Regions from separate parts of the Homo sapiens genome. Here regions 2 and 3 are each linked to region 1. The links are contacts of gene promoters, found by promoter capture Hi-C in human tissues and cell types (Jung and others, 2019). All regions are on one chromosome and are shown on one strand. Each heading gives the region's core, a stretch centred on a gene start or on the middle of the fragment in contact. The rest is flanking DNA. Distances are from core to core; before and after follow the strand shown.

What was found. The method cuts DNA at HindIII sites, captures the fragments that hold promoters and counts their contacts. A contact is called where the count stands out against the background at its distance.
Region 2: a fragment that was not itself captured here is called in contact with the fragment with the promoter of NDUFS8 in region 1 in 2 of the 25 tissues and cell types used here (H1 embryonic stem cells and pancreas).
Region 3: a contact is called between a fragment that was not itself captured here and the fragment with the promoter of NDUFS8 in region 1, in 2 of the 25 tissues and cell types used here (bladder and dorsolateral prefrontal cortex).

Annotation. Positions count from the first base shown.
Region 1 is chr11:68,029,403-68,032,102 of GRCh38, forward strand. It overlaps NDUFS8 (NADH:ubiquinone oxidoreductase core subunit S8), which reads left to right and starts at 1,279. Exons shown (of 7, transcript NM_002496.4): 1 at 1,279-1,331. GLTC1 (glycolysis associated regulator of LDHA post-transcriptional modification 1) reads right to left here and starts at 1,032. Exons shown (of 4, transcript NR_197583.1): 1 at 891-1,032; 2 at 1-18. RefSeq lists enhancers at 1,020-1,314, 1,306-1,485. The HindIII fragment of the contact is 8,880 bases long and covers 1-2,700 here.
Region 2 is chr11:67,849,624-67,852,549 of GRCh38, forward strand. All of the region lies in intron 3 of LOC112268076 (translation initiation factor IF-2-like), which reads right to left. It also overlaps the pseudogene ENPP7P7. Among named protein-coding and RNA genes, the nearest start is that of LINC02754, 33 kb to the right of the region's middle. The HindIII fragment of the contact is 3,083 bases long and covers 1-2,873 here.
Region 3 is chr11:68,229,489-68,232,563 of GRCh38, forward strand. No RefSeq gene overlaps it. Among named protein-coding and RNA genes, the nearest start is that of KMT5B, 18 kb to the left of the region's middle. The HindIII fragment of the contact is 3,922 bases long and covers 1-3,075 here.

The DNA.
Region 1 (2,700 bases), core at 29-2,528:
CATCCACGCAGGAATCACCTGATGAAGGGCCAGGGTCAGGTGTGGGCCACCATCCCAAGACCTCCCTTCTCTCTAGGGCCAGCCCCTCTCCTCTGAGCACCTGCTGACCAGCCCAAAGCCCTCTCCACTCCTCAGCTTGAACTCCCCCAGGGTCTCCCTGTGGCCCACAGGTCCTTTGGAGGCTCGGGCATCTGCATGCAAATCCCAAACCACTGTCCCCTTTGCACACACTGAGCCTGCCCTTGTCCTCGTCCTGGTCTACCATGCGTGTCCTCCCTCTGCACGGGCATGGGACATGCCCTCTGCCTCCTTCCTGTCCTGGCCTGCCCAACTCCTACCTACCCTCAGCGCAGATCCTCCCAACACACACATGCAGGCAGCCTCGGGGCCTCTGCGGGTCCCTCTACCACAGCATTCCCGGGGAAAGGCCCGGCGTGGTGGCTCACGCCTGTAATCCCAGCACTTTGGCAGGCCGAGGCAGGAGGATCGCCTGAGTCCAGGAGTTCCAGACCAGCCTGGGCAACATGGCGAGACCCCGTCTCTACAAAAAATACAAAAATTAGCCGAGCCTGGTGGTGGCAGGCGACTGTGGTTCCAGCTGCTCGGGAGGCTGAGAAGTGAGGATCACCCGAGCCTGGGAGGTCGAGGCTGCAGTGAGCCGAGATCGCACCACTGCATTCCAGCCTGAGCCACAGAGCCAGATTGTCTCAAAAAAAGAAAAAAAAAAAAAAAAAAAAAAAAATTCGCTGGTAGGAAACATAGGCTGGTTGAGTACGGGAGTCATACAGATCAGGTGGATCAGGCGGCCGCACACCGCAGCTCTACGGCCCGGGAACGTTACTAAATACTCCCATGCCTCAGCTTCCCGCCTTAACGTGGTAACACGTTACTGTAGTTTCTCCACGCAGAGCTGCTGTGAGGATTAAAAGAGGCCGCGTGAGTTGAGCATCTCGTCGCCATTACCGTCATCACACGCCCCCCACCCAACCCGGCGGGCCCACCCTCTGCACCCACGGCGAAAGCACTCTTTCTAAACCACGCCCCGGATGTCCCGCCTCCAGCGGCTCGGAGGTCTTCACTTATTGGCCTCCCCAAACCAACATGGCGGCCCCCTACAAACTTCAAGCGCCGGTCTCTCCTAGCCAATCAAAAGAAAGATATTTCTGAATCCCGCCTCTTTCAGCAGCCTTGCTGGCCAATCAGACCACACCATGAAGCATCAATACAGAAAAGGGGGAACCCGCTGGCCCAATGGCAGCGTCCTACAGTGTAGCCTCCGCCTCCCGATTGACTGGCCTGCTTGGCAAGGCAAGTAGCGGCGGCGCTTCAAGGTGGGTGTTCACGTTTTGGCCGTGAAAGTCGGGCTTGGGCAGCGTGGCGTCGGGGGCGAGTGTGGTGTCCCCGTTGGCGCCGCCAGCTCTGCGCCTGGGCTTCCCCTCGGCTCACTCAGGATCCGCGGCCTCCGTGTCCTTCAGGTGCAGCGGGGAGCCGGCTCTCAGGGCGCATGCGCCGCCCGCTCTGCGCCACCGGCCTAGTTAGGGTCGGAGATCACTGGGAAGGTGGGGAAGGTGCTGGGTTGGGTCCCTGGAACTGCAGTCAGTGATCCAAAGGAGTGGGCCTGTTAGGGGGTTCACAGGTCGTGGGATGAGCTCTTATGAGCGCCGGCTAAGTGCCGGGCTCTGGGGTGCCCTTGGCATGTACGGGCTCCCCTAATTCCCAAGACCAACCGCCCCCAACCCACTTCATAGGTGAGAAGACGGAGGTCAGGTCACATCATCTGCCCAAGGTCACGCGGCAGGCTGGGGGACAGTTCCAGGAGGGCCTTGAAGCTGGGGAAAGGAATGTGGTACCGAGGACTGTTCAGGCCTTGAAGAGTTTCCAGCAGGGCAGGGCTGGGTTCCGATCCTCGGCCCACCTCCTTATCGTGTGACTTCCGACAAGTCACTTTTTTATCTTTTTTTTGAGACAAGGTCTCACTCTGTCGCCCAGGTTGGAGGGCAGTGGTGCAGTCTGGGCTCACTGCAACTTCTGCCTCCTGGGTTCAAGCGATTCTCCTACCTCAACCTCCCGAGTAGCTGGGATTATAAGTGCCCACCACCACACCTGGCTAATTTCTGTATTTTTTGGTAGGGACGGGGTTCCACCATGTTAGCCAGGCTGGTCTCAAACTCCTGACCTCAGGTGATCCACCTGCCTCAGCCTCCCAAAGTGCTGGGATTACAGGCGTGAGCCACCACACCCAGCCCTAGCGAGTCACTCAACAAACTGAGTCCCAGCGCCTTATTTGTGCCTCCCTCGTGGAGTCCTTGTAAGGATAGGATGGCAGCGCTTTCCACCCCTGGGCACGGTTCCTGGGGGAGGAGAGCTAACAAAGTTCGCTCTCAGTGCATGCTGGCGGGGGCTGGTAATGTTGTTTTTGGTTAGATTTGGGGAGGATGAAGGGAGGAGCAGAAAGGTGGGAAACAGGATCTCTGGGAGGGAGAAAGGAAGGATGGATTTAAAAGGTTTCTTAGGTGAGGCAGAACTTGGGGTCCACAGAAACTGAATTGTAGCTCAGCCAAGCTGAATCAGATGGAAAGCTGGGAGGCGCTGGGAACAGGAAAGCCATCTGTGCCTCTGACAGCAATGGGGTGCGAGTAGAGGGCAAAGTGACACATGTCAGTGGAGACTTGGGATCCTTGCGGTGCCAGTCTCAGAAGA
Region 2 (2,926 bases), core at 82-2,581, 180 kb before region 1:
TGTCCTTTAGTATTCATTAAAGTCACCACAGCATGGGAGGCCTTTATGTTCAGGTTTTGTCCAAGAGTCAGCTTATCTGCTTCTTGTACTAGCAGGGCAGTTGCTGCCAAGGCCCTCAAACATGGGGGCCATCCTTTAGAAACCCCGTCTAGTTGTTTAGAGAGGTAGGCCACCGGCCTCGGCCAGGGCCCCACAGTTTGGGTTAAAACTCCAACTGCCATCTTTTCTCTCTCTGACACATACAATGGAAAAGGCTTTGTTAGATCGGGTAGCTTCAGGGCTGGGGCTGACATAAGTTTTTCCTTTAACTCATGAAAGGCTTGCTGTTGCTGGGATCCCCATTCAAAACGTTCCCGCCCCACCCCTTTGTGACCTCATACAAAGGCTTGGCTTATACTGCAAAGTTTGGGATCTACAGTCTGCAAAACCCCACAGCCCATAGGAATTCTCTCACCTGCCTTCTGGTCTTAGGCTCCAGTAGATTTCAAATGACCTGCTTTCTTTCTGATCCTAGGCTGCTCTCCCCCTTTCGGATAGTAAATCCTAAGTAATGTACCTGCTGTCAGCAGATCTAAGCTTTTTTCTTGGACATCTTATACCCACAGTCCTCCAGATGCCGGAGTAGGGCATCTGTTTCTTTGGTGCACCCGACTGCCGTGGGGTGTCCCAGCAAAAGATCATCAACGTACTGGAGCAAAATGCAGTCTAGGTCTCTGGTGGGAAACCTCTGGAGGTCTCGAGGCAATGCCTCCCCAAAGATGGTGGGGGAGTTCTTGAACCCTTGGGGAAGCCCGGTCCAAGTGTACTGAGTAGTGACACCTGACTCCGGATCTTCCCAGATCCGGAAGTCAAACAGAGAAAGGCAAACAGCTTCTGTCTCTCAGGGGCTAATCTGATGCTAAAGAAAGCATCTTTCAGGTCCAAGCAGGTGAAGCAGCTGTCCTCAGCTGGCAGCAACCCCAGCAATGTGTACGGGTTAGGTACTGCTGGATGTAAAGTCACTGCAGCCTGATTAACCAAGCGCAAATCCTGTACCGGCCAGTAGTCCTTGATCTTAGGCTTGGGAACAGGCAAGAGGGGAGTGTTCCATGAAGACTGACAAGAAACTCTAATTCCAAAACTTCTTAGGTGCTTGAGATGGACCTGGATACCTTCAAGAGCTTCTCTGGGGACCGGATCCTGTTTTTGCCTAACTGGCTGGGCCCTAGGCTTAACTTCTATAAGTACGGGGGCTTGGTTGACTGCAAACCCTGGAGGGTTGTCTTCCACCCACACTCTTGGCCACCGCTTAGCCAGAGCCGGTCTTATCTCTTGGCCCCACTCAGTTAAGAAAAGTCTCCATTCTTCCTCTCGGGGGACCGTAAGGGTCATAATGACTCCTGTTCTGGGTGACTTTAGCAGCAAAGAGCCATGCTCTGTAAAAGAGATAGTGGCTCTCAGTTTGCTAAGCAAGTCCCTTCCCAACAAGCGCAAGGGACAGTCAGGTGTGTACAAACACTGATGAATCACTTTATGTCCTCCTACAGCACAAGTCCGAGGCAAGCAGAAAGCTTGCTTTGCTGAAACTCCCATGGCTCTGATGATGTTAATAATCTTTTTGGATAAGGGGGCGACCGGGGTGGTTACTACCGAATGTCCAGCACCGCTATCTACAAGAAAATCAATGTCTTTACCCCAAACTGTCATCCTGACCATAGGCTCTTTGGGGGTCCTTGAGCCCAGTCCCCCTCAGTCCAATAACCCTTCTGCCAGGTTGAGCAGGGCCCCTTCATCCTTGTCTGGGGCCTCCTGCTCTGAGTCACCTGGTTTTCTTTTTAGCTGAGGGCATTTGTTTTTCCAATGTCCTATTTCTTTACAATAAGCACACTGATTACGCTGCAAGCTCTGACAGCCAGGCTGAGTTTCCTTCCCGGGGCCCCCTTTCCCTTGCCTCTTTGGGGGGACCCCTCTGATTGCTGCCGCTAACAGGTCGGTGTTTCGCTGGGCCTGACGTTCATTGTCTCTGTGGTTTTCCTTACGGCTTACTGCATCCCTGTTTACAAACGCCTGGTTAGCTATTTGTAATAACTCTGATGTGTTCATCCCTGCAAACTCAGCCTGTTGCTGCAGTTTTCTTCTAATGTCTTCTGCACTTTGAGTAACTAAAGCCGTGTTAATCATGCGTTGATTTTCAGGGCTATCGGGATCAAAGGGAGTATACATACCATAGGCCTTACACAGTCTCTCCTACAATTGTGCTGGACTTTCTTCTTTTCTCTGAATGACCTCAGAGACTTTGTTAACATTTGTGGCCTTCTGGGCTCCCCTCTTTAATCCTTCCAAGAGAGCTTCCCAGTCTCTGTTTAGCCTTTGCATATCCTCTCTTTCATGTGGGTCCCACTGGGGGTCAGTTCTTGGTAACTGGGTCCTTACATACTCTTGGGGGTTTTGGTAATCAGCTGGTGCATGTTCCTCTAGCCACTCAGTTGCTGCTTGGAGCACTCTCCCCCTTTCATCCGTGTTAAAGAGGAACATGAGTAACTGGTGGCAATCAGCCCAGGTGGGGTTATGGGTCTGGATAATAGTTTGGAGCAAATCAATCAGAGCTTGTGGCTTTTCGGTACAGGACGGGGTATTGTTTTTCCAGTTGAGAAGGTGGGCAGAGGTGAAGGGCTGGTACCCAAAACACGCCTCCCCACTACGTGACCATCCTCATCTATCCCAGTCTACCGCTGCTCTCTCAGGGGCATTTGTGTCCCCGTTTTGGGTCTTAAACGAGCTGCCAAGGGAGGGGTTTCTCCCGAGTCCTCACCTCCTCTCTTGTCTACTCTGGGTGGCTTAGGAATATGTTTGTCTTGTGGAGGCGCAAGCACTGTGGACTCAAAAGTGGGGAGCCTGCCTCCCTGGTAAAGAGAGGGCACCACTGGGATCACTGGTGCCATCTCCT
Region 3 (3,075 bases), core at 337-2,836, 200 kb after region 1:
CTTCCTAGCTTTTCTGGACCTCATTTCCTGCATTACAAGCTTTTTGGTGTGTTTGGTTTTTTTTTTTAATAGAAAAATGTTTGAATTTCTTCTCATTTTCTTCTGTGTATATTCTACAGCTATTTTCTTTGTTATTACAATGGGTATTACATTTAACATCTGTATTAGTCCATTCTCATGCTGCTAACAAAGACATACCCGAGACTGGGTAATTTATAAAGGAAAGAGGCTTAATTGACTCACACTTCACCATGGCTGGGGAGGCCTCAGGAAACTTACAGTCATGGGTGGAAGGGGAAGCAAACATGTCCTTCTTCACATGCCAACAGTAAGGAGAAGTGCTGAGCAAAAGGGGGAAAGTCCCCTTATAAAACCATCAGATCTCATGAGAACTCACTCACTATCATGAGAACAGCAACTTTGAGGTAATGACCCCCATGATTCAATTACTTTCCACCAGGCCCCTCCCATGACAAATGGGGATTGTAGGAACTACAATTCAAGATGATATTTGGGTGGGGACACAGCCAAACCATATCAACATCCTAAAGTTATAACACTCTGGTTTGAATTTATACCAGGTCAACTTCAGTATCGTATAAAAACTCTGCTCTTTTTACAGCTCCATCTCTTTTTCTTATGGTTGTTGATGTCATAAAATTATATCTTTAAACATTCTATGCCCCAAAACATAAACTGACAATGATTTTTAAAAAGTTAGTGTCTTAAATTATACAGCAAACAAAATGTGTAGTTACAAACCAGTTACAGTAATACTAGCGTTGGATTAGTTCTTGGTTTAACTAATCAATTAATTAATTTATTATTATACTGACTTTTAATTTATTTTATTTACTTATTTATTTATTTTGAGATGGAGTCTGTCTCACTCTTGTCACCCAGGCTGGAGTGCAGTGGCCCGATCTTGGCTCACAGAAACCTCCGCCTCCCAGGTTCAAGCGATTTTCCTGCCTTAGCCTCCCAAGTAGCTGGGATTACAGGCACCCACCACCATGCCTGGCTAATTTTTGTATTTTTAGTAGAGACAGGATTTTACCATGTTGGCCAGGCTGGTCTTGAACTCCTGACCTCAGATGATCTGCCTGCCTCGGCCTCCAAAAGTGCTGAGATTACAGATGTGAGCCACTGCACCCGGCCGATACTGATTGTTTTTTAAAGTGTAATAGTCTCTTAAATTCTGCAGAAAACCAAAAGTAGTTTTACAACCTACTGTTACAATAGTACTAGCTTTTATAATTGCACATATATTTGCCTCTATTGAGATCTTTACTTCTTCATACAGTTTCATGTTACTATCTAGTGTCCTTTCGTTTCACCTTCAGGACTCCCTTAAGCATATCTTGCAGAGCAGGTTTACTGGTTATGAACTTCTTGAGTTTTCTTCTTCGCTTTTTTTTTCTTTTTCTTTCTTCTTTTTGTTCAGAGACAGGGCCTCACTCTGTCACCCAGGATGGAGTACAGTAGCATGATCACAGTTCACTGCAACCTCAACCTCCTGGGCTCAAGCAATCCTCCTCCCTCAGCCTCCTGAGTAGCTAGGATTACAAACATGCATCACAACGCCTGACCTTTGATTTTGTAGAGATAGGGTCTCACTATGTTGCCCAGGCTGGTCTCAAAATCCTGGACTCAAGTGATCTTCCTGCCTTGTCCTCCAAAGTATTGGGATTATAGGTATGAGCTATTGTACCTGGCCCCTTTGGCTTTTCTTATATTTTTCTTTTATCTTCTTAAAAATATTATTTATGGGTTGGGTATGGTGGCTCATGCCTGTAATCCTAACACTCTGAGAGGCCAAAGTGGGCAGATTGCTTGAGCCCAGGAGTTGGAGACCACCCTGGACAACATGGAGAAACCCCACTCTACAAAAAAGAAAAAAAAAATTAGCTGGGCTTGGTGCATGTCTGTAGTCCCAGCTGTAGTCCTCAGGAGGCTGAGATGGGAGGATCACTTGAGCCCAGGAGGCTGAGGCTGTAGTGAGCTGTGATCATGCCGCTCCACTACAACCTGGGCGACACAGCAAGACCTTGTCTCAAAAAATTTTATATTATTGATTCCTTTCTTTTACAAACCCTTATCTTGAGGGCTGACTTTAAATAGATCACAGTGAGGGAGATACTCTGCTATGTACAAAATCCTGACCCAGAAGCAGGTTGTCTATGAATGGTTTAGTACCAGGTTCTCCGTGAATGTGCACTCCATGATGGGCCAGCGGGGACAGCCCATTTCTGGCCATACCCCATTTCACGGGTTGAGGAGTTCTCTGTACTGGACTCCGGTCCTGGCACCAGATGAGGCACTGGCAGCACGGTAAAGGACCAGCTATCTGAGGCCAACCAAGGCTCTGCAGTGCTATCATATCATTCTGCCTTCTGCCTGGGCGGAGTTTTGATTTAGAGGCATTCAGTCATAATCTCACGGATGGAAGCTTTGCTGCATTGGCTTTTCAGCCAAGCACATATTCTTCACTTTTGAAAGACAGTTTTATCCAATATAGGATTCTTGGTTGACAGGTTTTTTGTTTTTGTTTTTGTTTGTTTATTTTTTATTTTTTTGAGACCGAGTCTCACTCTGTCTCCAGGCTGGAGTGCAATGACATGATCTCAGCTCACTGCAACCTCTGCCTCCTGGGTTCAAGCGATTCTCCTGCCTCAGCCTCCTGGGTAGCTGGGATTACAGGTGCACACCACCAAGCCCTGCTAATTTTTGTATTTTTAGTAGATGGCATTTTGCCATGTTGGCCGGGATGGTCTCAATCTCTTGACCTCGTGATCTGCCCTCCTCAGCCTCCCAAAGTGCTGGGATTACAGGCGTGAGTCACCATGCCCGGCTGTTTTTTTTTTTCTTTTAATAGTTTGAAAATGTCTTGGGAGGCCGAGGCAGGCAGATCACAAGGTCAGGAGATTGAGACCATCCTGGCTAACATGGTGAAACCCCATCTCTACTAAAGATACAAAAATTTAGCCAGGCGTGGTAATGGGCGCCTGTATTCCCAGCTACTCAGAAGGCTGAGGCAGGAGAATGGCATGAACCTGGGAGGTGGAGCTTGCAGTG